Linked DNA regions of Homo sapiens: regions 1, 3 and 4 are each linked to region 2. Evidence: promoter capture Hi-C in 16 types of primary human blood cells and fetal thymus (Javierre and others, 2016). All regions are on one chromosome and are shown on one strand. Each heading gives the region's core, a stretch centred on a gene start or on the middle of the fragment in contact. The rest is flanking DNA. Distances are from core to core; before and after follow the strand shown. Region 1 overlaps KIF21A (kinesin family member 21A). Region 2 holds the start of REDIC1 (regulator of DNA class I crossover intermediates 1). Region 3 has its middle 19 kb from the start of KIF21A. Region 4 overlaps KIF21A (kinesin family member 21A).

What was found. Contacts are between HindIII fragments. The CHiCAGO score rates a contact against its expected background, and 5 or more counts as called.
Region 1: a contact is called between a fragment that was not itself captured here and the fragment with the promoter of REDIC1 in region 2, in 2 of 17 cell types (naive CD4 T cells and total CD4 T cells). The highest score is 6.0, in naive CD4 T cells.
Region 3: a contact is called between a fragment that was not itself captured here and the fragment with the promoter of REDIC1 in region 2, in 2 of 17 cell types (naive CD8 T cells and activated CD4 T cells). The highest score is 5.4, in naive CD8 T cells.
Region 4: a contact is called between a fragment that was not itself captured here and the fragment with the promoter of REDIC1 in region 2, in 3 of 17 cell types (non-activated CD4 T cells, total CD8 T cells and naive CD8 T cells). The highest score is 8.0, in non-activated CD4 T cells.

Annotation. Positions count from the first base shown.
Region 1 is chr12:39,400,726-39,408,362 of GRCh38, reverse strand. All of the region lies in intron 1 of KIF21A (kinesin family member 21A), which reads left to right. Among named protein-coding and RNA genes, the nearest start is that of KIF21A, 39 kb to the left of the region's middle. RefSeq lists an enhancer at 5,047-5,096. The HindIII fragment of the contact is 443 bases long and covers 2,325-2,767 here.
Region 2 is chr12:39,624,247-39,631,211 of GRCh38, reverse strand. REDIC1 (regulator of DNA class I crossover intermediates 1) reads right to left here and starts at 5,029. Exons shown (of 13, transcript NM_001031748.4): 1 at 4,853-5,029. The coding sequence starts at 4,875. The HindIII fragment of the contact is 5,259 bases long and covers 3,267-6,965 here.
Region 3 is chr12:39,458,917-39,465,806 of GRCh38, reverse strand. No RefSeq gene overlaps it. Among named protein-coding and RNA genes, the nearest start is that of KIF21A, 19 kb to the right of the region's middle. The HindIII fragment of the contact is 200 bases long and covers 2,518-2,717 here.
Region 4 is chr12:39,423,845-39,431,262 of GRCh38, reverse strand. All of the region lies in intron 1 of KIF21A (kinesin family member 21A), which reads left to right. Among named protein-coding and RNA genes, the nearest start is that of KIF21A, 16 kb to the left of the region's middle. The HindIII fragment of the contact is 7,012 bases long and covers 1-5,043 here.

The sequences.
Region 1 (7,637 bases), core at 1,297-3,796, 220 kb after region 2:
TTTTGCCTCCTGTCAGATCAGTGGTGGCATTAAATTATCATAGGAGTATGAACCTTATTGCGAACTGCACATGTGAGGGATCTAGGTTGTGTGCTTCTTGAGAATCTAATGCCTGACGATCTGAGGTGGAACAGTTTTATCCCAAAACCATCATCCCCCTCCACCCAACCCCCCGACCATCCCTGGAAAAACTGTCTTCCACGAAACCAGTCCTTGGTGCCAAAAGGTCAGGGACTGCTGTTTTAATAAACTTTTTATATTTTTTTCTTCTCCATTCTTTAATGTATTTGTAAGTTTTTTAAAAATCCTCATTAGCTAACTACAGCATCTTGATCATCTGGAGATTTTTTTTCCATTATCTGTTTTTTTCTCTTGACTATTTGTCACGTTTTCTTTTCTCTATTCATATGCCTTGATTTTATGCTACTTATTTTATGCTAAATATATTTAGCATATATTTATATGCTAAATATATTTAGCTACTGATTTTATGCTAAATATAATATGTAAAAGGCCAATTGAGAGAGATTTTTGTTTGTTTTTTGGAATGGGCATGGGTTAAGAGAGATTGAGAGTCATTGTGAATAGGAACATGAGGATAGCACCTTGTTGCTTGTGAAGAAATTGAGTAGGGGAATATTTGTTAAAATGATAATGGGATTTTCTCTAGGACTTTCTAAGAGATTGAGCAAGCTGTATGATCTTGAGCAAGTTACCTAACCTCTAGAAGCCTTGGTTTTATCTTCTGTAAAATGAGATAATTATAGTATTTATCTCACAGAGTTACTGGAGGGAATAAATGAATATTTCTGGCAGCATAGTAAGGGTTTGATATATTACTCATTGAAGATTGAGAATAGACTATTGGATTTGGTTATATGATAAGTTGTTAATGTCTTTGACAGTGGGTTTTCAGGGATGAGTAGAGACAAAGGCCTGAGTAAAGGAGGTACAGGAGAGAATGAGGAATTCAAAACAGCAAGAATAAGCCATTGTTTTGAGATTGTCAAAAAGGATATTAGAGAAATCTGGTAGCCAGAGAGGGACATGAAGTTCAAGGATAAGTTTGAAACATTGTAATGATTGTAATTACAATAAACTTCACGGTAATTTTATGTAGTAGTACTGTTTTGACCCCCACTGTAAAAATGAGAAATCTCTAGCATAAAGAGAGGAATGCAATTCTAAAATGTTTGTGTGCTGAGAATGATCTACTGGGAAGGGAAGAATCGACAATGCAGGAGCTGGAAGGAATAATTCTAGGAGCAAAATTTCAAATAAGTGGGAAATCATGGAATGCAGTCCACAAGTGGAGAGAGTGACCTTTAACAGGAGCAGGGAGTGTGCATTCATTTTAACAATATTGAAAGCAAAGTATATGGGTAGATTTTGGAGTGGGAAGATGAAGTTTTATTCTGATAGCTTGTATTTGCTCACTGAAGTAAGAAACAAGGGAATGAGCTGAGCATGAGTTTGGAGGTATTATAGAAGAAGCAGTGAATTAGTTATTTTGGAGAGTGGGTTGATTTGAGATTACGAATGAGTCTTTTGATAGTGCTGAGGGCCCATTTAAGTTTGTGGTCATACACGTAAAGTGGAGATTGTGGCAGTAGGAGAGAAAAGGGAGGCAGGAAGCTTGACATCTTTGAGAAAGAACAAAAGATGAATTAACATGGTGAAGCCAAGAAAGGAAGAAAACAGTCCTTCCCTTGAAAAGCTTAAAGTATACCTGCCAAGTTAGATGATACACAGGGAAAAGGATACATAAGTAAGCAAATGATAAATGCCAAATGACCTAGAACACAGGCTTTGTTCCTTCACAGGAGGGAGTGAACATTTTGGGTGACATGGATGGCTTTAGTGGGAGGTAAGCATTGATTGGACATTAAAGTATGTGCAGATGCCAAAAGAATAGAGAATCATTTGCCAACTCCCTGGTTCCAGTACTGTGCTTTCTTTTATTTGGAGCCTTTGAATTTCCTGTCTGTTGATTCTACTTCTTTTGGCATTGGGCAGATAGAGACATTGATGCATCCCTTTCTGTCTGAAGATAATACAATGTTATAGTTACCCACAAAGGAGGTATAATCACACTGTAATGACCTTGAGATGTTTTCACTTTTACATAATGTATCAAATATGTTGCTTGAAAATTTGTTAAAACTTGAAAGTATTATTTTGTGTTTGTTTGGCTTTTTTTTTTGGAGGAAGTGGGGTGCTGTTAGAGAATAGAATAATTTTTTTTGTTTGTTTGTTTTCAGGCTCTGTTCTGTTACTTCAAATTTTAGTTGAAATTTACAGATGTGTTTTGAATGTTCTAAGCTTTCTTTGACTTGAACATGAAGGGTGGGAAGAAAGGAAATCTGCAAAGACACGCTTTACATATAAGCTAAAGGGGAAATTTTCTTCTACACAAAATAAAATGTTAGTCACACATATAATGATGGGTTTGTAACTGTCTTGTTACTATTTTGTCCACTACTGAGTGACTTTATTATTTTTCTTATTGCATATTTTTTTTTCTTACGGCCTAGTTAAGAATGATCAACTTCGTGTTTTTAGTCATTTCAGTGAACAGGCAGTCTTCTGTTTCAAACAGAGAAATGTCTGTTGGTAAGAAACTTGCAACAATAATGTAGGGCTTTTTTTAGTGGTTTGTTTTGGAACTTTATATACGCTTTTTAAAAGCAGCTGCAAGGAAAAGTGTGTGTAGGTTTTTGTTTCTTAAATGTTAATGTAAGGGATATTTAAAGAACTATATGAAGCTTTTTAACAGTGCTTTATTTGACTTTTACTAGTTAAATATTTCCTGCACTGTAGTTTTACTGTAAGATGGCAACAATTTTACATAAACAAAATTTTTCTTACAAATACTTTTTTTAATGTTGCAATTATTTTGGCAAAGATACATTTTTGAAAAATAAATTGCATTTATTTTTCTAGTTAATCTCTTACTTTAAAAATAGCATTTAATATTAAATTTAAAAAATAAATTCTCTCTTTTGTTTTTTTGATGGAGTTTTGCTCTTGTCGTCCAGGCTGGAGTGTAATGGCACAGTCTTGGCTCACTGCTACCTCTGCCTCCCGGGTCCAAGAGATTCTCCTGCCTCAGCCTCCCAAGTAGCTGGGATTACAGGCGCCTGCCACCATGCCCAGCTAATTTTTGTATTTTTAGTAGAGACTGGGTTTCACCATGTTGGCCAGGCTGCTCTTGAACTCCTGACCTCAGGTGATCCATCTGCCTTAGCCTCCCAAAGTGCTAGGATTATATGCATGAGCCAGTGCCTGGCCTTCAAGTATATTTTTACCACATGAATAGCTTTAAATTCTCCATTATACACTTTAATGGCTATTCTACTATATATTTTTTTAGTTTGAAAAAAAAAGCCTTAGGAAAATTTACTTTCCATAGACAGAATTTGTTTAACATTGCGCATTTGAAATTTGTATTAGTTCAGCAAGGAATATATACTATTTGGAATATTATTGATACTGCTGAAATAGTATGAAGGTATCACTAATTTTATATTTAATTTGCCAAGACAAAGAACTCTTAAAATTCCATTATTTTCTTGATATAGTATTTATATAAAATTCTGTTTTGGAACATGTTAGAAGTCTCATTTACTATTAAGTTGTAGAAAGCATATTTGCATTGATTATGATTATGTGTTTTTACATTGCTACCTATATAATGAAACAGGATGGTAGTATTACATTGCAAGTAGATGGCATTTATGCTAAATAGCATTATCTCAAGGGAAAAGAGGATTTTTATATTTAATGTCCCCAAATTCTTACTGTATATTTCTCAACTGCTTGTGGCTGTGTTTTTTAGTTATGAAAAAGAGTAACAACTCAGATTATCTTAAGCACTACTTACAGTAGTGAAATGAATACCCCAAATATGTTACCCTTTCTTATTAAAAAATATTTTGAGAGGAGCTGGAAAATGCAGTAATTATTCCACATTATTTTTATTTCTAATCAAGTTACCATTATTTTCTCATCTTATTTGTTAATAAGGTCAGTTGGAAAAGGTAGTCTTTCACCATATGTCAGTGGCTCCTACATTTTAGTGTGTCTAAGAATCTCCTGGACCTAGGCATGGCAACGCATGCCTCTTACCTCAGCTACTTGGGAGGCTGAGTCAGGACCATTGCTTGAGTCTGGGAGGCAGCAGTGCACTTGGAGGTAGTAGAGTAGCATGATTGTGTCTGTGGATAGCCACTGCACTCTAGCCTGGGCAACATAGTGAGACCCTGTCTATAAAATGAATGAATAAAAATAAAAAAGAATCTCCTGGGTGCTTGATAAATATGTGGATTTCTAAACCCACTAGAAATTCAGAATTACCAGTCTATGTGATTAACAAGCTCCCAGGTGATTAAGATGCATTTGGTCCTTTGAGAAACTTTTGACAGGTAGCAGTTCTTTAACATTTAATTCAGTTCTCATTCATATTAACTCAACATTAATTTCAACATTAACTTAATTTTCATTAAGTCTTCAACAGTCTTAAAGAAGTAAGACTTTGCTACTAAGCTGAGATTGTTTCACTTAAAAACTTACATGAAAGTATTCTAGATATTTTAATAGCTTTGAAAGTTAAAATAATGAGTTCTCATGTTTTAGATTATAATAACATGTTTGTGTAGAGTTCTACAGTTTAATAGTCACTATTACATCTATTGCCATTTTATCTTCATAAAAAGCCTGTAAGGTAGGTAAAACAGGTATTATTACTTTCATTTCATGTACTGGGAAACAGGCTAATGAAAGTTAAGTAACCTGCCCTAGGTCATGTAGCTAATAAACAGCTGAGATTCACTAGAACATAAGTCTTGACTCCTAGACTCATGCTCTTTCCATATCAAACCATATTAAGTTATCTAAAATTGAAGCACTGAAAAAGTGTGTGTACATTTTTAAATATGTAGGTGTATATGTATCACACTCACATGTATATACAAATGTATCATCAGAAATGATTAAACTTTTTCTAATTAAAAACTTAGTATGCTGATTAGATTTTGGCATTTTTAGACAGTAAACATGCTTTGTCTTACAAACTGTAGACTGTGAGTTCCATAAGGGCATGTACTGTGTATTGCATATCTTGGTATTCTCATTGCCTAGCCTAGTGTTTTGCATAGAGCCCCCAGGTGTTCAAGGGTTTGATGAATGAACAAATGGGTAAATGAATGACTGTTAGGTTTTTTTTTGTCAAGGGGTGTTTGAAGGTTTTTGATGTGTATTTTTGTCTCAAAGTGGGAAAGGTTCATTACTGAGCTCTTGACTTTTAAGTGGGGATGACACACATTCTTGAATTATGAGTACATGTAGTGCCAGTTCTCACAAGCAGATGCCAAACACTGCTTCATGAACCAGCACAACAATCATATGATGGTAGTAGTTTCTTCTCTTGCAATGTGTTATGACATATTTTACAGTTTTTAGTTATATACAGGTAATTTTTTTTTAACTAAATATAATGCAAGGGTGTCCAGTCTTTTGGCTTCCCTGGGTCACATTGGAAGAAGAAGAATTGTCTTGGGCCACACATAAAATACGCTAACACTAATGATAGTTGATGAGCTAAAACCAAAATTGCCAAAAAAACTAATAATGTTTTAAGAAAGTTTATGAATTTGTGTTGGGCCACATGCAAAGTCATCCTGGGCCGCATGCAGCCTACAGGCTGCAGGTTGGACAAGTTTGATATAATGTATGTTACTGGGTAAAATTAAATTCTAAGTAGAGGAGAAAGGGGCTCCTCTTATTTTATTATTTAAAAATTATTTATTTATTTGTATAGGTATGTATAATACAGGTGTCTTGCTATGTTACCTGCCTAGGCTGGTCTCATACTCCTGTCCTCAAGCAATCCTCCCTCCTCGGCCTCCTGAGTAGTTGGAATTATAGGCATAAGCCACCAAGGCTAGTGTACTATTTATTGTAGAAATACTTTAGAACCCTTTAGAGGACATCTTAAAAAATGTTTCTAAACCTAACAAACTTTTAAACTACCATTATGGCTTTCTCCTTGCCTTTCTTTCTAGAAATACATTGATCCAACTCCTGTTCTACCCAAGTTGTGGTGGTGGTGGCTCAGAAAGATTTTCACTATTCTGTTATCTGTTTAGAAGATATCCTTTTATGTAATATAAAATAAATTTTTTGGTGTCTCTTCCTAATTGTATAAAATTTCCTAAGAGGCACGGTCACCCTTTTTATCTTAGAGCCAGATTATCCCTTTGCCAATTACCCAGAATGTCCAAATATACAGTTTTGATAGGCCACAGTTTTGTTTGATTTTGTTTTTGTTTTATCAATATATTTAATTTTCCTGTCTGGTAGGAGTAGGAAGAATGCATGAATGCAGTCTAATTTAGTCTATTTCTCTGCATATTTGCAACTTGTAACTAGTTTGGTAAGGAATTATATTGAATCAATGGTTCAAATGAAGTTTTGGAGAAGCTGTGGTTTTCATGTATTTCTACAGTTCTCCTTTTTTAAAAAATATTACATATAGTTGTTAAGTGCATTCATTACTAATCCTGAAATCCCATTTCTAAAAGGCAAATGTCTAGCAAAATACTTTTTCTTGAAAAGATTGGAGAAGAATTTAAGTGGTGACAACATTAAACACTTCTCATGAAGACATGCCTTCGATAGATGTTCTGGGCACTGGTTTTGATTCAGTTTTTGGTACTTAGCCAAGCGTTCCTCCCATGCACTCTCAAGTTCTTTCTGGCCACACTGTGATTTTGCCTCAGTAAGTATCTGTAGAATCATGGGAACTTGGCCTTTACTGTTGTTGATAACATTTTATTGTGAACACCCTTTAATCTTTGGCATACTAAAATTTCATCTGAAGCATTTTTCAGCCTAGAAATGTTTTTTGTTTTTTCCCCAAATATTGTCTTTTTAAAAGACAAGACAATTGGGTAAAGAATTTACCTTGAGAATTTTGTTTCCTTACTTCTCCATTTTCCCAGTCATTATTTTTGTTGCTTTTGACCCGGAAACAAGTTCTTTTTCCTGTATCCTTCTCTAATCTTTTAGCTCGTTTGAAAACTGAAGTTTTCTACTGTTACTATTCCTTATGAATGTCTATTTTTCCTTGCTTACTATATACTGTCTGGCCTTTACCTCATTTCCTTTTGGTTCCTAGAGCACTTATGATTCTCTTTTGTGGTACTTATTTTATCTTGCATTTTTAAAGGAACATGTCTGTATTCTCTGAAATGCAGACTCTGTGAGGGTAAACTCTTAGCTTATTTACATTTGTGTCTTACAAGTGTCAAGCGTGGGGTTTTTCAATGAGTGGATGCTCAATCAATATTTATTCTCTTGGATTAAATTAATCTTCTGGTTTGGCTTCCATGAGTATAATTATATAAAAATCACTTGTCTCTAGGAACCTTTGTGAAACCTGAGCAGAAGATGGTTTTCTCCTTTGGTATAATTGGTCATTTTCTGCTTTAGGTTTTTTTTGTCCTGATTTCTGATGCATTATCAGAACTACACATCTTGGCAGTACATGTCTCTTTTTTGTTTTGGTTAGAAATAAGATAGTCACGTTCTAGAACTTCAGCCTAAATCAGCCTTTCTCTATTTCTGGACCTAGTGAT
Region 2 (6,965 bases), core at 3,780-6,279:
CTGCTTATAAAAATGTTCAATAGGCCGGGCACAGTGGCTCGCGCCTGTAATCCCAGCACTTTGGGAGGCCGAGGTGGGGGGATCACTTGAGGTCAGGAGTTTGAGACCAGCCTGGCCAATATGGCAAAACCCCATCTCTACTAAAAATACAAAAAATTAGCTGGGCATAGTGGCAGGTTCCTGTAATCGCAGCTACTGAGGAGGCTCATTTTAACAGAACTATTAATGGTAGTTTATATTTAGTTAAAAAACAAACACTGAGACAAATGCTAAACTGGGCATGCTACTAGGACCACAGGCATAAACCTTGACCGTTTCAGGCAAACTAGGATGATGTTCACTGTACGTTTAAGTATTACCCACATTTAACAGACGAAGAATAAATTTTCAACTTCTTTGTCTAGCTTACAAACTCACCATCAAGCAGACATATGCAGACATTATCTCCAACTATTTAGGTAATGCTTTTCTGTTTTGTTTTTCTCCATCGAACCTTCTTTTGTCCTTGCCTCTGAGTAGCCAAACTCTCAGCTAAACCTATCCTATGTTCTACTATGGTTCACATTATTTATTTTTTATATCCTATTTTGGCCTCTGACATTAAATATTTTCTAACTTAATGGCAAGTCATACTTTTCTTCCCCAATACACTACAACCTTATAGAAAAAGACTAAATTTCAGTTACTTTGTACTTACACCTGGCACAGTGCTTGGTACATAGCACTCAATAATATCTTGCTTAGATGAACTAGGTCTAGGCCTACATTTACAAATGGTAACCTCTCCCTCACCTAAATTCCAACAGAACTTTGCCTAGGCCTTTCTTATGACATTGATTGATTCCCCAATCTGAATTATAAAAATAAACCTCCCTAATTTAAAAAAATCTTATACTGCATGTATAGTGGTATATTTATAGATCTATAGCCGATCTGATTCTGAATAGCATTTTGCAGACCAAAGTCTGGTTATATGTTCCTCCTTTCTTACTACCACCTTCATATCTGAGGTAAGTATGAATTTGGTGAAACTAGTCATTAATAAACAAGAAAATAAAAGAATCTTTTCAAAATTAAAAACAAATCAATGCTTACATATGTTGTCTCTCAAATCTGCACTTCAACCTGATTAGAAAAATACAGGGTCTCCGTGGTGCCTTCCAGCAAATATGAAACCAATGTGAGAGGTGTAGGTCACTAAGTCCCAGATAAGTAAAAAAAAATTTTTAACTGGTGGGACTGACAATAGATTGATATTTTAATTTTGTCAAAAAAGGATTAAAAATAGAAGGGGGCATTTTAGTATCAAAAAATTTAACAAGGATATAACTTCAGAAAAAAAGAAAAAAGTCCATTAAATTGAAAAACCTGCTATTATCATTGATTAGCAAGTCTCAAAGAGACAGTAGTTTGGGAACTACTATCATATACATGTAAATTAATTTCTTAGATCAATCTCTTTGCCCTCAGTGAGACCCTGGTTTGAAATGCACTGTTATGATATCTTGCAAAGATGGCCAAAACCAAAACAGTAAAGCCAAACTAAGTAAGCAACTAAAAAAGGAAAATAAGGGAAGCTTATTTCTAATCACTGGCTCTTTCCTTTACAAAAAGACATTTTATATATGACTGGTAAAGTCCCTAAATTGAAGAGCAGCAAAGGGTCAAATGCCCAGTTTGGTTTATATAAGAAAAGCTGTAAAGATCTTTGCAACTATAAAACTGTAAAGATATTGCTATCAAATGATTCTGCAATTAAACTCACTATATCAGGTTTCTATAATATACAAGAACAATCTACTTCAAATTAGTGTATGCAATCTGGTTGCTATTACTAAAACATAAATTTGCTTCATTCATTCACTTGAGAAAAAGTATATAGAGAGCCCTTTATTAACTGTTTAAGTGTCTTAATGCAGACTCACCTAGTATCGCAAACTAACATTTTTCAAGTTCCTTAATACCTTCCCTTCCAACTCATCTTTCTCTTTCCTAAGAAGCCTTGCTGAAACCTAGATCTCCAATTTGATCAATTATTTATTTCACCTCCATTTTAACTTTTAAGAACCAGTGTTCGATTGTTTCCCTTTGGTGCTTGCTCTGTGCACTATTTCTGTCCTTCAAGGCTTAGTGTAACTTCCTGTTTCTCATTTCTCTGAATTTCCACAGCCCTTTTTTGTGGTACTTTTATTTACTTTATTTGTGGCACTCATCTTTCTATACAGCATAGGATGGAGGGCAAGCACACTCAACTCAAATCCTAACTCTGCCATTTACTAGCTGGGTGCCTCTAGTCAAGTCACTTAACATTAATGAACTATGCTTCAGTTTCCCCATCAGTAAAATGGGAATAATATTTGTATATAAATCATAGCATTTTCAAGAGCAAATGAATAAGCACTTAGAACAGTGCTTGTGACAATATTAAGTCCTATTTAAATATCTATTATTATAGTGATTTGCCTAATTTTAATCTCTACTTTCTCTCCTAGGTTCTTTTTGTGGACTAGATGTATTTTTCTTTTCTGAATCCCCCTGTACAGCTTACCAATTCCCTAAACAGGTAGTCAGGTAAAAAATATATTTGCTGAATTACTTTCTGTTGAAGGCTCTGGAATTGTTCTGAAGGAATTGTTCTCCAATCACTTCACTTGTCTATATTTTAAGTTCCTAACAGTTCTTCTTAAAATGTTCAGCCAAAAACATCCCTAACAATGGAGGGGGGTAAAAAGAACTCCAGCATGGTTTGGGATAAAGATTAAAATTTCTATTCTATTAGCTCCATCAGCTGCCACTAGTTACTAAAAGCACTAGTTCAGACTGAGGCCCTTTAGGACACTATGAGTGCCAAGATCAACTAATCTTGTGTACCCTTGCCTGTTCTGAAAATAGAAAATGGAGACACCCATTTTTTTTTATTACCAATCTGGGGCTTTACCCTAAGAAGCCTATCCCGCCACATAAAATTTATTTAAAATTGCAGTGTATCTGAACATTTCACAAGAGTTTTTCATTTCACTCTACAATGCAACCATGTTTGTGTGAAAGTTGATCACACAAATTGAGTCATTCTTGTGATGTCCAACCACATCAGAGTTGAGATGTCAGGAGGCAAAAGCACACAGGGCACATAGCATTGCTCCAAAAACATGATTCTCTGCAAGCCAAGCTTCTGAAACTGCCTAGGACCAGTTATACCAAATAACTACTAAAATGACCTTCCAGGAGGTCATTTTAACTACCACCATCACCCACCAGTCAAAGCTTGCCAGCTTCTCACAACTTCACTACTGTCAATGAACTTTCTTTCAAAACCATATGTAACATTTCTCTTTTTTTGTAAAATCCCCACCCTTTTCTTTGTTCTTCAGACATACCAAAGACATACTTTGTGTATGCCCTGAATTGCAATTCTGCCATTTCCAAATAAAACGTTAAATTTAGAGATTTGTCTCTACATTTTATTTTGACTTCGACGTTTGTATAAATTTAAACACATATTTTCTCCTAATCTCTGATTAAAACTGATCCTTCGGGGAGATGTAACCATGTTTCTTAAACCCCCTGGTACCTAATATCTCCAGATGCTGCACCTCCAGGTGCTGCAGTACACCTCATTTTCAGAAACACAATCCTAGGTTACATGTTTCCTGCAGTATATTGTTTTTGCATCCTCCCAGTAGCAACTAAAATATTACTCCCAAAATAGCCATAAAAGTTTGTGATATATGACAGAATAATAGCAACATCTACATTTTAATAGTGCTAAGCATTTGTAAAATTATTTCATATAATCCTATTTAATATTTTAAAGAATACTAAATTCAAAAAGATCACATTATAAGCATGTATCAACTAAATCCTGTTGAAGCCTGTAAGTAAATTTTCACTTTTCTCCAGAGTACGTCTGCTGCCAGAACACTAGCCAGAAGTAATTCAGGTAAATTTCTAAAATACAATGCTAGCATATTCAACAGGATAAAAGTGCATGCTAAAATTATCAGGCATAGCTACAATACTTAGTGAATACAAAAGCTGTCTTTCCTCCGATAAATTCTTTAGAATTCAAACGCATTATAATCTAACATATAATTACTGTCCTGGGTCTACTTGTGACAAAAAAATTACATGTAATGGCTTCTTGTTTCAATCAAAACAATTCTTCTCATCAAGAATTTTGATCAAATGAAATTACAGGCCCACATGATTTCCACCCAGCTGGACTTTAAGGTCAATAACAATGAATAGGTTATATAACACTAAATTTTCAATCTATCACGCTTTATGTGATCAATCCTAAATACAAAATAAATGGCAAATTCGCTCAAGTTATTCAAGTAAAAACGGTTCACTTTACTTCCCCTTAAAATACAAACTACAATTTGGATTTATGGTGATACTGGTGCCCTGCCATTGATTTAAGTGCAGCTGGGACTGGGCTGTTTCACAATTTCCAAATTCATGCAAAGACTATATATCAACTCAGAAGAACCTAAAAGAGGTGTAGACACGGAAAGAAGGCAGTAGGGGAGGGCTCAGGTGCTAAAAGGCCTCATTACAGTAACAGAGCATAGGACATGGAGAAGGGGAGGAGGGGCAGCAGGGAAGGTTACTCACAGTGGCCCCCACAGGTGAAGCCTTTGTAAAGGCAGTGAGTGGGGAGAAGCTGAGTTACTTTTGTCTGAGGAGTAGAGATATGGTTCTAGAGTCTCCAACCCGATTTGGATAACAATAAAAAGACCCTTTCCTACCAAGTTCTTTCCAGCTAAGGCTGTGACCTCTCCGCCAGGAACTAGAAAGAGGAGTCGTAGGAATGAATGTCCCAGCCTCAAACTCCAGCTGCACAACTTACCGGGACCCCCCGACCCAATTCATCTTCCCAAATCTTTTGACACTGAGGTCCCTGTGTCTAGAGCTCAGACATCTCAGCTCTGCGCCAAATCGCAGCTTCAGCAGGATCCCCCAGGGCCTCCTGACAACGTCAGGGCCCGAGTAAGCTCCTTCTGGTCCACCGCCTGAGGCCCAACCTCCCAACAGCCTCTGCGGCTTCTGCGTGTTCCTTCCGGTCCTGATAGGGCCGCAAGGGGACGCTGCGGCAAAGCAGCCGACCTGGCTGACATCGTTTTAATCGCTGAGGCAAGGCAGGCCTAAATAAATGAAAGCCTAAATTTTTGACAGGGGCCACAGGATTAGTGTTTCAAAACACCTCCATCATAATTTTATCTAGTTCTGACAGGTCTTTGACGTCTTTTTCGAGTCAGAGACCAGACTTGAGAAAGAAAAAGAAGGCAAGGACACAGTTAAGGATCGCTAACCCTAAAAATGATGTTTCCCTTCCCATTTATTACCCCATACCCAAATTCCTTAAATATCCTTCATGTGCAGTTTTAATACTCCGTAAACAGGTGTTTATAAGAAACATAGCGCTGTAGTAAGTTACCATTCTGTGCATTGAGTTGCTAAGAGAGCTTAAATCAGGCCGGGCGCAGTGGCTCACGCCTATAATCCCAGCACTTTGGGAGGCCAAGGTGGGCAGATCACGAGGTCAGCAGATCAAGACCATCCTGGCTAACACGGTGAAACTCCGTTTCTACTAAAAATACAAAAAATTAGTGGGACGTGGTGGGACGCGCCTGTAGCCCCAGTTATTCAGGAGGCTGAGGCAGGAGAATTGCTTCAACCCAGGAGGGCAGAGGTTGCAGTGAGTCGAGAGACTCCAGCCTGGGCGACAGAGCAGACTCTGTCTCTTAAAAAAAAAAAAAAAAAGAAAGAAAGGAAAAAAAAGAGCTTGATCAAAACTTAATTAGATGTAAAAGTCCAAAGATGTTAAAATCCTTACTGAAAAAAAAATCTCAAAACAAAAATTGAATTATGCTATTTGTTTCTGTATTAAGTTTGTATATCCTTACAAAACAATTATCTTACAAACTGTCCTATATTATTTTGGTTAGAAACTAGGCATCTCTTCTTCCAAATACATGCACAAATTACATTTTTTTAAATTGCCATGTTTTTTTCCAGAACATAACCTGGGGAAGATTTCACAATTTGATATATAATAATCGATTTTTTGTTAAGTCATTGGAAAATAGTACTTAGAATAGGATTATGTCCCAGGGTAGATATCTTGTTTAATCACAAAAATCCTGTTTTTTATGACAAAATTCACCAAGGTGTATCTAAAATTGAATTAGACCAAGTGAATTCAGCATTTCCGAGAATATCAGACTTTGACATGGAGTTGTTTTTTCAGTAACAAAACCATACAGGCAAGGAAGAAGCAATGGCCCTGTGTATCAGCCTTTCCTACTTTCAACATTTTAAAACATATTGACTAAATTAACTGAAAGGGGAAATAATTTGCTAAGGGATTAACTCTTTTTTTCTTTATTGTGAGTAAAGGGACATAAGGAGAGGTTGACCAAGTTGTTGGGTAAAGAACTAAGAGCTGGCACTCCATTTGTGGGAGCCAAAAATTAAAACAATTGAACTAACGGAGATAGAGACTAGAGTGATGGTTACCAGAGGCTGGCAGTGGGGGATGGGGAAGTGGGAATGGTTAATGGGTAGAAAAATATATTTAGATAGAATGAATAACATCTAGTTTTGATAGCACAACAGGATGATTACAGTTAACATTTATTATACATTTTAAACTAACCAAAAGAGAATAATTGGAATGTTTATAACACAAAGAAATAATAAATGCCTGAAGTGATGGATACTTCATTTACCTTGAAAGATTATTATACATCTTATGCCTGTATCAAAATATTTCATGTACCCCATAAACATATTCACCTACTATATACCCATTAAAATTAAAAAGAAAAATACATAAAAATTTTAATAAGAACTGAGAGCTGGATGGGCCATCTCTTCCCCCTTACTAGAGTCACTTCTTTCCTTCCAGTCACAGGGAGGCAGTGAATTAGGCTAAGGAAAGATTAACCTATGAGATACAT
Region 3 (6,890 bases), core at 1,368-3,867, 160 kb after region 2:
GTGATGAATTTGATAACATTATGCACTGGTATGTAGATATAAATTGATAGCTGAAACAGTGCAACTTACTTTTCCTATATTCATCATCAAAATTCCTATTCTTTTTAAATTTTGGCTACTGGTGTGTTACCGCACTCTCAGATTAATGTGTCCCAGCATGTAAAGACTCCCATGCTAAAAGCAAGTATTTTGGAAATGTCATTTCTTCTTTTTCTCTTTTAAGGCCTGTGTGAAACATATTTCTTTTAGAAAATGTTTTCTCACACTACACTTTACTAAATTACTGCCTGATGTTCTGAACTGTGCTCACTCTTCTCTCTGACTTCTCTTTGCAGCCAATAATAGCAGAAGCTCTTAACTTCATGCCAGATACTGTATGTGCTAACCATTTTATTTACACTAATTTGATTTTGAGGATAATCCTTCCTGGTAGGTAGTGTGATTTCTAGTTTATGAAACTGAAGAAGCCAGGATTATGAATTAGGTCTTATTGGACACCAAAAGCCTTCTGCTTTCAAGGACTTTGCTGTATGTGTTTTGTTCGCACTGAACCCCCACAGCATCTCTACTATTTTGTAAATGTTAAGCTCTTGCCTGTGTGCATGTTGTGTAACCACAAGGAAATGGTAAACTTGGAAGGGGAAGCACTATGAGTCCTATTTCTTTGTCATCTGCCACTCCCAGTGCCTGCTGAATTCTTAGCTTAGTATTTCGTCCTGAAAATGCTGATGACCAACTCCAAAACTGATTTTTTAATTTTTTTAAATTACAGGCTCATCAAATTAAGAAAGACTGGCTGGGCGCAGTGGCTTACGCCTGTAATCCCAGCACTTTGGGAGGCTGAGGTGGGCAGATGACTTGAGGTCAGGAGTTCAAGAGCAGCCTGGCCAACATGGTGAAATCCCATTTCTACTAAAAATGCAACAAAACAAAACAAATTAGCTGGGCATGGCAGTGCAGGCCTGTAATCCTAGCTACTCTGGAGGCTAAGGCAGGAGAATCACTTGAACCAGGGAGGCAGAGGTTGCAGTGAGCCGAGATCACACCACTGCACTCCAGCCTCCATAACAGAGCAAGACTTTGTCTCAAAAAAAAAAAAAAAAAGAAAATTCAGAAAGACTACTAGCTTTCCACTGAAATATTTTTATTCAGTAAATTCAAAAACTCAAGCACCAGTGCTTTCTTAAAGTACAAAAATTCAGTAAGATCAGAGAATGTCTTAAAGTGTTTTTGATTTGCAAAGTGTTTCTAATATATAATCTCTTTTAATTTTCACAATGCAACCATATAGAATTTTCATTTTAAAATGAAAATTATTATGCAAATATCTAAGTAACAAACCTGTACTTGTACTCACTAAATCTATAAAAATAAATACCATAAAAATTCTGAAACTCAGAGAAGTGAAGTGACTTGTTTGCACTTGGCAGTAATTAGGTGGATTCATACTCCAACCTAAGTCCTCTGATTCCAGAGAGCAGAACTGTCAATTCTCAAGAATTGACAGTTCATGTGTCTGAGTGTGTATTTATTTAAAAGTTTTTATTACAGCGAAATTATCATCCAGAAAGGTTGCTACCAGTTGATACACAATGTAATGAAATGGTTAGAGCATTGACTCTAGAGCCACTTATTAGCTGTGAGACCTCAGTATAAGTTACTAAGCCATATTGTGCCTCAGTTCAACTGTAAAATGTGGATGACAATATAGCACCTAATCATAGGGTTACTGTGAGGATTAAATGAGTTAATATATTTAAAATATGGATGACAATATAGCACCTAATCATAGGGTTACTGTGAGGATTAAATGAGTTAATATATGGAAAACACTAAGAAGTGTCAAACGTTGCCAACATTTGTGATTCTATCAGAAAGCCATTATTAGTAACAATCTAAAGGATCAAAAATGCCATTGACTTTTTGCCTTATTTTGCATTTTCCTAATTACTACTAAGGTGAGCACCATTTTGTGTTGTTGTTGTTTGGTATGATCTCTTCTGTGAATGGTCAGTCCATATCTTTTGCTCATTCTGTAAAATTTTTTGGTCTCTTCATTTTGATTTGTAGGAGATTTATAACATATTCTGGGACTGGGCGTGGTAGTTCACATCTGTAATCCCAGTACTCTGGGAGGCCAAGGTGAGAGCATCGCTTGAGCCCAGGAATTCAAGACAAGCCTGAGCAATATAGGGAGACTCCTTCTCTACAGAAAATTTAAATATTGGCTGGATGTGTGGTCCTAGTTACTGGAGGCTGAGGTTGGAGGATCCCTTGAGCCGGTGAGGTGGATACTGCAGTGAGCCATGATTGCACCACTGCACTCCAGACTGGACTACAGAGTGAGAGTCTGTCTCAAAAACAAAACAAAACAAAACAAAACAAAACATATTTTGGATATGAATCCTTTGTAATACATATATAGCAATCTTTTGCTTTGTCACTTATTTTTAACTTTGTTCAAGTTGTCTTTTTTTGTAGCAGTTTAAAACTTTTATGTACTCAACTTGTCAAGCTTTTCTTTTATAAAACTTTTGATTTGTATCATATATTTTGTAGTTACTTCTAATACTTACATAGTTTTGGTTTTTATATATGGGTATTTTATACCTTAAAAATTAATTTTTGTGTATGGAGGGAGGGATCTCCCTCTTTCCCTCCCAAATGAGTAGGCATCATCACATGAATAATTTGGAGTTTGATAATCTGTTCAAGCTTTAGCACTTGCAGTCCTCACCCCTCAAACCTGCTCTCTGGTTTCCCCTCTGACCTCTTTCTAAAAGATAGGGATATTTTAATATCCTGATGATATTTTCTATCATCAGAGAGGGAGAGTGAGGGAGAATGAGAGGGAGTGAGAGAGAGAGAGAGAGCTGGTCTTCCTTCCTTTTTTTTATAAGGGCACTAATCTCATTATGAAGGCCACGTACTCATGACCTCATCTAACGCTAATTATCTCCCAAGGGTCCCATCTTGAAATATTATCATATTGGGGGTCAGGGCATTAACATATGAATTTGGGGGTGGGGGACACAAATATTCAGTCCCTAAATTCCATCCTTGGTCCCCCAAAATACATGTCTTTCTTCCATGCAAAATACATTCATTCCATCCCAATAGCCTCAAAAGATTTAACTAATTCCAGCATCTACTCTAAAGTTCAAAGTCTCATCTAAATATCATCTAAATAAAATATGGGTGAAACTGGACTTATGATATATAGTGAGGCAAAATTCATCTCCAGCTGTGAACTTGTAAAATCAAAAAAGTTATATGCTTTCAAAATACCCTGGTAGAACAGGCATAAGATAAACATTTCCATTCAAAAACGGTCATTTCAGAAGAAAGAAAGGAGTGACAGGTCCCAAGCAAATCCAAGTCCTGGTAAGGCAAATTTCATTAGATCTTAAGGCTTGAGGATAATCCTCTTTTGCTTGATGTTCTGCTCTCTGGATACACTGTGGTGGCTGCATTGCTCCTTTGTTCCAGGTCAGGGTCCCACCCCAACAGCTTCAGGCAGAGGCTGTTTGGCTGGTTAAAACTAAGGTAGTGGCCTTGATCACCCTCTTAATCACCTTCAGGGTCATTGTTGCCTCTTGATGAATAGTGCATGTTCTCAGCCAAATGGCACTATCATCCCATCCTATCAAATCCAAGAGGTCTAAAAGCCTTCCTTTATTTCATCCCATCTCAATCCCCTTCAGCTCAAACTTGCAATGTTTCTCTTTGTATAATTCCATAAACTCTTTAACAAGTGACAGTCTAGCAACACCTCTGGTGTGCTTTTCAGAATATGCTTTCTTATTTTTGCAATATGGGCAGCTGAGAACTTCTTAAATCTTCAAGTTTTGGGTTTTTTTGTGTGTAACAATTCCTTCTTTAATTCCTCTCTCTCTATTCACGTTTTACTATAAGCAGTCAGGAAGAACTAAGCCACTCGTTCAACACTTTGCTTATATATCTCCTTAGCTAAATACCTAGTTTCATTGCAAGCAAGTTCTGCCTTCCACAAAACACTAGTACACAATTTAGTCAAGTGTTTGTCACTTTATAACAAGGATTGCCTTTCCTCTAGTTCTGATAACAGGTTATTCACTTCCATCTGAGACCACACAAGAATCACTAATGCCCATATTTCTAATATGTGCCTCAAAACTCTTCCAGCCTCTACCCAGTACGCAGTTCCAAAGCCACTTGCACAAATATGTTTAGATATTTGTTACAGTAGTACCCTACTTTTTGGTAACTAAATCTGTTTTAGTCTGCTTGGGCTGCCATAGCAAATACCTTAGATTGGGTGTTTTAAACAATGGAAATTTGTTTCTCATAATTCTGGAGGCTGGAAAATGCAAGATCAAAGTGCTGGCCTATTCATTTCCTGGTGAGGGCTTGCTTTCTGCCTTGCAAATGGCCACCTTCTCACTGTGTCCTTACATACCTTTTTGTGCATGTGTAGGGAGACAGAGACAGAGAGAGGGAGAGCAAGCTCTCTAGTGTCCCTTTTTACAAAGGCACTAATCCCATCATGAGGGCCTCACCCTCATGACCTCATCTAACCCTAATTATCTCCCAAGGACCCTGTCCCTTCATACTATCACACTGGGTATTAGGACTTCAACGTATTAATTGGGGAGGTGGAGGAGACACAAACATTTACTCAGTTACTATTACAGGGCATCAGGTCACATGTTGCTCATGCCTTTCCAACTCAGACAGCCTTAGGACTGGTCTGAGTTTCAAAGGAGAGAACAAAGGTCTTCTTGACCCTTCAAAGCAACATTGTACAGTCTGGAGAATTTGTCATCATCTGCCACCTTGAAGTTAAGCCTATGAGAAAGCAAAAGCTTTCTCATAATGTACCTGGTGTAGGCAGTAGCACTTTGTGGATTTGGGAATACCAGTAACTTGGCTCTACTTTCCAGCAAGAATGGCAAATAGTGTAGTACCCACTGTGGCTGGGAGAGTAAGGAACATTGTAACCATTCTTCTTCATGGTTACCAAGTGGATTTCCCTCTCAAAGTCCATCTCCTTCAGCGTCTGATGCATGCCACATTCTGGAGATAGCACCAGAGACCTCACGTACAGGGCCTGGGCACTGCCATCCGGGCCTTGGCCTCTATCTCAGGCTTAGAGTCCCAGGTGGGAGGTGGGAGGCCCCAGCCTGTCAAGACATGACATTTTAAAGCACTCCACCCACCCACCAGTAAAAACAAAACAAAATAATTTGGTGTTTAGATTAATTAGGAAATTAAAATAATTAGAGAATATCATTATTGATGCATGATGTTGCCAAATAAAAACATCAAATATGCATTAATGAGGGGTATAAGAAGCTGTGACAAGCAATAAAAAATAATAATGCATCATGGTTCACATGTTTGCATACTCTTCTATGTAAACCCATAGAATTTTATTTATATTTAAATTTAGAATTTTATTTATATTATGTTATTTATATTTAGACTTTTTCTGAGTCTAATATCTCACTCCAGAATATGACAGATATTTGGTATGGTGAAACTTTCCTTTTTTTTTTGTATGTTACTCTGAACTGCTTCACAGGTTTAAAATAAGCAGGAACAAAATAAAACCTATGGGCACATCTACATACCCTGGATGAGCAGTAAAACGTGCTGCCACTTAATTGATAAAACTGTATTCCAAGAGCAGCTAGTGTTTCCTTAACTAATATTCATGTTAGTTAATGTTTGGGCTTGAAGATGTTGCCATTTATTCATCCTTTTGTTCAGTAAACAGTTATGGAGCATCCTCTTTGTGCTGCTGCTTTATGGTAAACACTGGACACCAAGTAGAAAACAGGATGCGGAATCCATACTTTGCTAGAGGTTATAGTCAAGTGAGTGGAGTTTACTGCCAAGTAGGACAGAAAAAAATAATACATTGAGGAGACATGAATTTAATAAAGAACAAGAATTATGAAAGTGATCCAAGTGGGGGTAAGTTTAAACAGGAGGCTCAAACTGTTATGAGGATAGGGAAATTGTGAAAATAGCATGGAAATTTCAGGTATGGAGGTGGCAAATACAGTGTCTTAGAAGCATAGGTAGCAAACTATACTTTCTTTTTTTTTTTCTTTTTTTTTTTTTAGAGATGGGGTTTCACCATGTTAGTCAGGCTGGTCTCAAACTTCTGACCTTGTGATCCACCCACCTCGGCCTCCCAAAGTGCTGGGATTACAGGTGTGAGCCACTGCGCCCAGCCTTGCAAACTATACTTTCATTTCAATTTCGAAACTACACTATTCTATGGATTCCTTATCAAGTTAGTAGGAGTAGTAAGGAATGGATATTTGCGGAAGTGTTTTAGAGAAATGCATGTATATATAGCAATGACACCATTATAGTAGGTAATCAAGCAGACACGAGCAAGGCAGGAGAGAGCACCACCCGCCCCACCAGGAATGTCAGGTGACCATCAGCTGATGGTCAGGTGGTGGTTAAACTGCCTCTAAAATAATAATTGTTTGCAGCCAGCAACAGGGAAAGGCAGTCTCCCAACAGACAGAAACAACTGAAACTGGTAATCCACAGCTTCCCGATAAGATCTCAGGAGCTGGGTGAGTGACCTCATGCATAAACACTAAGAGGCAAAATGGCAGAGTTTAACTGGCATATGACCTTATAGGAACACTCAACTGGTAAGGGAAAAACGCCTCAATGAGCATGTGCACAACGTCAGTAAGCACACTGCGCACGTGGCCCCTCCCAAGAGTTGGCAGCCCACTGCACATGTGGACAGCCACTCCAAAAAAAGAATTAGGGAGAAGAGATGAGGGAAGACCCCAGAAGAATACCAATGTATAAAACCCCAAGTCAATGGTCAAACTATTCACATGAATCTCTCAAGTCACTGGTTTGGCCCTCTTCCA
Region 4 (7,418 bases), core at 288-2,787, 200 kb after region 2:
TGTGGGCTGCACAGAACTGGCAGCTGCCACCAGAGTTATTCCACTTGTATACATAGGCTGGCACTGATCTGTTCTAGGTCATCTCTGGACATTACTTCACTTCCATGCCATCCAGTTTAGTTGTCCAGCTTTCTACTTTACCCCATTCAACCTGGAGGCCCTAGGATGTTTTGAGACTAAAATCACATGGGATCTAGAAGCTGTGATTTCCATGTGTGTCTCAGTCCATTTTCTGTTGCTATAACAGAATACCAACAGGGACGACTTATACAGAAAATAAATTTATTTAGCTCCTGGTTCTGGGTGCTGACATCTGATGAGGGCTTTCTGGCAGCATAGTACCATGGTGAAGGACATCACATGGCAAGAGGGAGGGTGTGTGTCTGCTCAAGTCTTCTTCTTCTTACAAAGCCACTAGTTTCATCATGGGGGCCTTCCTCTATGACCTTATCTAATCCTTATTATCTCCCAAAGGCCCTACCCTCAAACAACATAATGAATTTGGGGATTAAGTTTCTAATACATGAAATTTGGGGACACATTCAAATCATAGCAGTATGGGATTGACATGAAACACACACACCAAAACATAAAATCCACTAAGGAGTTGAATGAATCTGCCCAATATGGTATAAAATATATTAATGTTCACAAAAAAATAAATTGATATGTTTCTTTCTTTCTTTTTTTTTTTTTGAGACGAAGTCTTGCTCTTGTCCCCCAGGCTGGAGTGCAATGGCGCCATCTTGGCTCACTGCAACCTCTGACTCCCAGGTCCAAGTGATTCTCCTGCCTCAGTCTCCCGAATAGCTGGGATTACAGGTGCCTGCCACCAAGCCCGGCTAATTTTTATATTTTTAGTAGAGACAGGGTTTCACTATGTTGGCCAGGCTGGTTTTGAACTCTTGACCTCAGGTGATCCGCCCACCTCGGCCTCCCAAAGTGTTGGCATGACAGGTGTGAGCCACCACACCTGACCCTTAATTTTATTTTCTTTTGCAGCATGACTTATGGAAAAAAGCATGGACTTTATTTATTTACGTTTTTATTTTTTTAAGGTTGTTTTTTTTTTTTCCAGGGTCTTAGGGTTTTGCTATGTTGACCAGGCTGGTCTGAAACTCCTGAGCTCAAGAGATCCTCCTCCCTCAGTTTCCCAAAGTGCTGGGATTGTAAGCATGAGCCACCGTGCCCAGCCAAGCATGGACTTTAGAATCACAAATATTTGAGTTCAGAATTTCGGATGGCCACTTAACTTTTATGAGCCTTAGTTTTCTCATGTATAAAATAGGGTTAATCCCTTAATCCCTATCTCACAGGGTTGTTAAGATTGTTAGAATGTTCTTTAGAATTGTTTGTGAGATGTTAGATTCTTTTTTCTTTTTTAGTTTTATCCCTCCTCTTCTTTTTTCTCCTCCTTCTATCTGCTGTTTTCCTCTTTCCCTCTCCATCTACCTGAAACTCTATTTTTCCTCTTCTAGGTAATATCTAATAACTAACCATAATTTCTTTCAAAATCACCTTAAGATAGGGTTAATTTCTTTGGTGAGTTCCTGTTTATAAAACCACACTTTCATCTTGGTTGGTTTCTTTATCCGTGAAGTGGAGGTAATAAGAGTACTAACATAATAGGATCGTTATGAGAATTAATTGACATAAAGCACTCAGAATAATGTCTGGCACATAGTAATCCTGAAATGTTAGTTGGGACTAACTTGCAAAAATCTATTTCTTTAACAGAGATTCTTTCTAGTCTTCACTTGGGCCCCCTTTTTACAATTTATTATGTCTGTCTTCAATGATGAAGAAAAGGGATGATAATAGTGCATTTATATTTGATAATATGTGACCTTGATATTACCAGTCAAAGCTATTAGCATTGTATTTATATGATAGAATGGATATCTTGAATTATCTTTAATGAATATGTTGAGTTGTGAAAGTTAAGACTGAGATGATTAAACCCCCTAGAGCAGTTTGAATAAAATGTTTTCTTAATCTTTGTTCTCTGTTGGTATGTGTGTTAATGGAAATTCATTCCTTTTCTGTTTATCTTTGACATGGGGGATACTTATTTATTTCTAGTTGGTTAGCAGGCAAGGTGAGCTCTTTGGCATATTAATCCTTAAACCTCTTAAATATATTGCTTAATATGTCATTAATCTGAGCACACCTCTACTTATACCAACAAGGTTTTTACTAAGACCCCATAATTGATCACACACACACATACTTTATATTTAAACTATAAGTGAACATCTCATTTCCATGTGTCATGTCTAATTTGAAGTCCTTTTTTTTTTTTTTTTGAGACGGAGTCTCTCTCTGTCACCAGGCTGGAGTGCAGTGACAACATCCCGGCTCACTGCAACCTCTGACTCCCCGGTTCAAGTGATTCTCCTGCCTCAGCCTCCCGAGTAGCTAGGATTACAGGCATACGCCACCACGTCCAGCTAATTTTTGTATTTTTAGTAGAGCCAGGGTTTCACCATGTTGGCCAGGATGGTTTCGATCTCCTGACCTCATGATCCGCCCACCTCGGCCTCCCAAAGTGCTGGGATTACAGGTGTGAGCCACGGTAATTTGAAGTCATTTTTAAAGATTGACTGAAGTGACAGTTCCTTTGCTAACTTAGCAAAGACATTTGATTAATTTTACTTTTCCTCTTTGTAGTTATGAGACAAGTCACATTGCATATTATAAAAATTTTAATTACCATGGTTAAATAAGAAAAATCAATTAACAATTATTTGTGACTCTGTTTTTTCTAAGGATCTTACTCAATAATTGGGTCTTGATTGTTGACACAATAATAGCCACTGAAACCTTTGACTAGATAACTAGTTTTGTTTGGGTTGAAAAACAAGTTTCTGAGAGATAAGGTATCAACAAATGAGGTCTGAAACTTAAATGATCCTGAAAACAACCTTCACTTTTTAAGACAAACCTTTTTAGAAAGCAAACTTGATTGAATTGTTAAAACAAATACCTTTTGAGTCCTTCACAAAAGTTGGTTTACTGTGAAATGAAATACTGTCAGATGGACCTAGAATATTTGTGGTAGACAGTTAAGTGGACTATTGAGGATGACTAAGAAAGCCCTATTTGCTGTCTTTGACAAGGAAGAATCATCCACATATAAGCTATTAGGATAATGAACACAATAGTAGGACTAGACTAAGAATGAACATTCTTCAAAATCATCCCTACCCATACTGCACAGCAGAGGCTTATATATTTGAATTGTTTTCTGTGCCTTGTGATGAGAACCATGTTCTCTGTTTACCTTTAGAAAGAAAAAGATGTGGCTGGGCGCGGGTGGCTCATGCTTGTAATCTCAGCACTTTGGGAGGCTGAGGCAGCTGGATCATCTGAGGTCAGGAGCTTGAGATCAGCCTGGCCAACATGGTGAAACCCCATCTCTATTAACAATACAAAAATTAGCTGGGTGTGGTGGCAGGCACCTGTAATCTCAGCTACTCAGGAGGCTGAGACAGGAGAATTGCTTGAACCCAGGAAGTGGAGGTTGCAGTGAGCCCAGGCTGTGCCACTGCACTCCAGACTGGGCAACAGAGAGAGACCGTCTCAAACAAACAAACAAAAAAGATGCAATAGCAGTCATCTTTGTGGTTTGTGGTTTTCTTTTCTTTTGGACTATCAAATATGTTTATTTGCACATTGCATAATTTTCTTTTTACTATTGAATATTTTAAAATGAACTTTGATGATGAAAAGTAATGCTGTTGGACTTTGAGTTCAAATCCCTTCTGTTTCACTGACTTCCTTTGAGGTAGTAGCGGTGTAAAAGTAACCCTGTGAAAAATAACGTTACCCCTCTCTATGAGTCAGGTCCTTTTGTGTGTAAAGTAGATAATACTACTGTTGAGTATATTACAGGCATTTTGGAAAGTACAGCTAGTAAAAATGTAAAAAGAAAGCTATTGCTCCAAGTTCATTGTAGGCACAGCAGAAGTTACTAAAGTATTCCGATATCTAAAGAAACAAAATTTTTAAGGATAATAAGTAACTTCCATCCCTGACCATTCCAATTTATTTCAGCTCAGATCCATTCCATGTGTTTTAATTTAGTTCAGTTCCGTTTATTAGTTACTGAGCCCCACTAGATCAAGTGCACTCAACATAGTTTGATGGGGAAATGCAAGATGATTCAGATAGGGGTTTTGCCCTCAGTCCAGCTGGGAGAGCCTTGCATGTCTACACAAGACCTGATGGCTCTCCCATGAAACATGCCAAAAATGAAGTATGAACACATTATGTGTAAGCTATTAGTTTGCCCCTCCAGCCACTATAATCACATTAGCTACTTTCTCAGACAGTAAAACGATTTCTTAATTTTCTTTCTTTTCTTTTTTTTTTTTTTTTTAACAGAGTCTCACTCTGTCACCCAGGCTGGAATGCAGTGGTGTGATCTCACCTCACTGTAATCTGTGCCTGCTGGGTTCAGGCAATCCTTGTGCCTCAGCCTCCCAAGTAGCTGGGATTACCAGCATCCACCACCATGCCCAGCTATTTTTTTTTTTTTTTTTGTATTTTTAGTAGAGATGGGGTTTCACCATGTTGGCCAGGCTGGTCTCAAACTCCTGGCTTCAAGTGATCTGCCCACCTCGGCCTCACAAAGTGCTGGGATTACAGGCGTGAGCCACCGTGCCCGGCCTTAATTTCCAAAATAGTAATGTAAATGCTTCTTAATAATGATATAAGTCCCATGACATCTGGTCTTTGCCTTATCTTTGACATAGCCTCCTTGGTTTATTTGCTTTCTCTTCTCTAATGCTTTTTTAATTTCCATGCTCATTCCATTTTTAAAAATACCTCTCCATGAATTTATTCCTATTTTCATCACATATGTTAAATGCAAATATTTATTGACGACTGTTCATCCACACATACAAGGATATGAGTACACGCATACATGCGTGTACATGTGTGTATACTCACACATATTCGCAACATCCTTTTCTCACACAGTTAGTTAATAACATCCATTTAGAGTGGACAGCTTGAATTTTAGTGAGGTAGAAAGCTTTTATGGAAATTTCTTAAAATATTCCAATTCTAAAAATATTTTGAATACAATTTAAGACTCCTTTGTTAACTGCTTATTTTTTTTCGTATGTTTCCATTTCATCAATCTCAGTGTCTTGTGGGTACCAGCCAGTTTTGTCTTGGTAGACCGATTACCTGTTTTATCATTCAAAGACCCAAAGACCCAAGGCAGGGTAAACATTTATTATTGGTGGAGTTTTGCTGTTGAATCTTGCATAGATTTCTAGATGTCCTTGACAGCTCCATTTTTTTTTTTTTTTTTTTTTAGTTTCTAATCTTACTTCTGTTAGATGTATCTTTCAGAGTAGCTAGCTCTTGTTATAAGGAAGCGGCAGAAACATGATTTCCTGAGGAAAATGGGCTCTGACATTAGGAGACTTGCTTGAACCTGACTCCTTTCCTAGTTTTTAACCTTGGGTGGATTCTTTAATCTGCCTAAGCCTCTGTTCCCTCATCTGTAAAAGGATATTGATAATATATGCCTCAAAAAATTATTCTCTTTTAAGGACGCCTTTCCTAATTCTATCATATTCTCAACACTTATAACCCCTCCATGTATATAATTTATATTATATGACAGTAAGTTTATTCATAGATTGCTTTGTAAACAGTTATCTTTAGTATCTTGGGCTTATGTTGGTTTTTTATTCCTCCTCCAATTCATTGTGAATTACTCAAAAGCAAGGATAGGCTCTTTTATTTCTTGTTTGTCCTCTGTCTGGATGCTTAATACATCAGCAGGCACATAGCTCTGGTCTTTAACATCAGAGGTGAAAAATATAATTTACTTCGGATTATTCTTACGGAGACTTTATTCAGTCTGTCAAAAACCATTTGACTGCCACTGGTGTGCCTGGAAGGGAGTTCTGGGTATTGAGGGTACAGATGTGAGCAAGACAAGAGCTTTAATTCTCAAGGAGCTGAGCATTGGGTGAGGATAGAGACAATAAATATTTTTTTTTAAATCCAGATATTGATATATACTATGGAGAGGGTAAAACAATATGCTTGATAGTAGTTGTCCTTGGTTGGGAGGAGTCATTTGAGTTGAGACCTGAATATTGGAAAATGAGCCATGAGAAGACCTGAGAGAACAGCATTCCAGCAAAAGCAAGTGAAAAAGGGCTAAGAAATAAACTGGCCTGTTAGTGGACAGGTGAGAAGGACAGTATAGCCAGATATAGAAAATAGAACCGAGGGTGAAGATAGGTAAGATCGGAGAGGTAGGTAGAGAGGTAAGATCATTAAGGGCCTTATAGGTCTGGGTGGAAATTTTAGACTTCGCTTTTAGTGAGAAATCTTTAGAGAGCTTCAAGTAGAGATGTGACATGATCTAATATGCATTTCAGAAAGATAACTCTTGTTGCTCGGTACAAGGTGGACTGTATTATAAGAGGTGAAAATGTAGGAGATGAGTGAGAAAGCAGTTATTATGTTCCAGGAGTGACATAAAGGTGGCTTGGGCTAAAAAAATAACAGTACAAATGGTGAAACGTAGATTTGGGGAGATAGAGCTGTTAGGACTTGCTGGCAAAGGGTGTGATGAAAAGAAAAGGATCAAGTAGATTCTTAGGCTTGGGGCTTTGAGGTGAAATTGATTTTTTGGGGGTGAGATTAATAGTTCTATATTGTCTGTGTTGAAATTGTTGTGCATATTGGACATTCTAATAAAGATGTCAAGTCAGTTATTTAATCTATGAGTTTGGATCACAGGGAAGATGTCTGGTCTGAAGATAAACTTTTGAGAGTCAACAGCATTTAGATGTTTGCAGCCATGGCTTTGGATGCATTCATCCATGAAGAGGGAAAATTTAGAGAAGACTTATGGGGAAAGAGCTCTGGAACACTAATATTTATAGGCCAAGAAGAGAAGATCTAGTCAAGGATACTGGAGAAGAGCGGTTAGTAGTAGTGAGGTAGGAGAAAGCAGTGAGAGTATGTTGTCCTAAAAGTTGACTTTAGATGTTGCTGAGAAGTCAAGTAAGATGTGAGCAAAAGTTGGCCATTGCCTTTGGTTGGAGTTAAGTTATTTATGACTCAAATATGAGCTGCTTTAGTGGAGTGCTTGATTACAGTAGGTTAATGAGACAATGCTAGGCAAGGAAGCAGAAACAGTGGTATCAAATAATGCATGTAAGTTGTTGGATATGAGAGTGGGAAGATGAAGTAGTTCTCTTCTGACTGCCTTTTTTTTTTTTTTTTTTTTTTTTTTTTTGAGACAGAGTCTTGCTCTGTCCCCCAGGCTGGAGTGCAGTGGCGCAATCTCGGCTCACTGCAACCTCCGCCTCCCAGGTTCAAGTGATTCTCCTGCCTCAGCCTCTTGAGTAGCCAGGACTACAGGCATGCGCCACCAT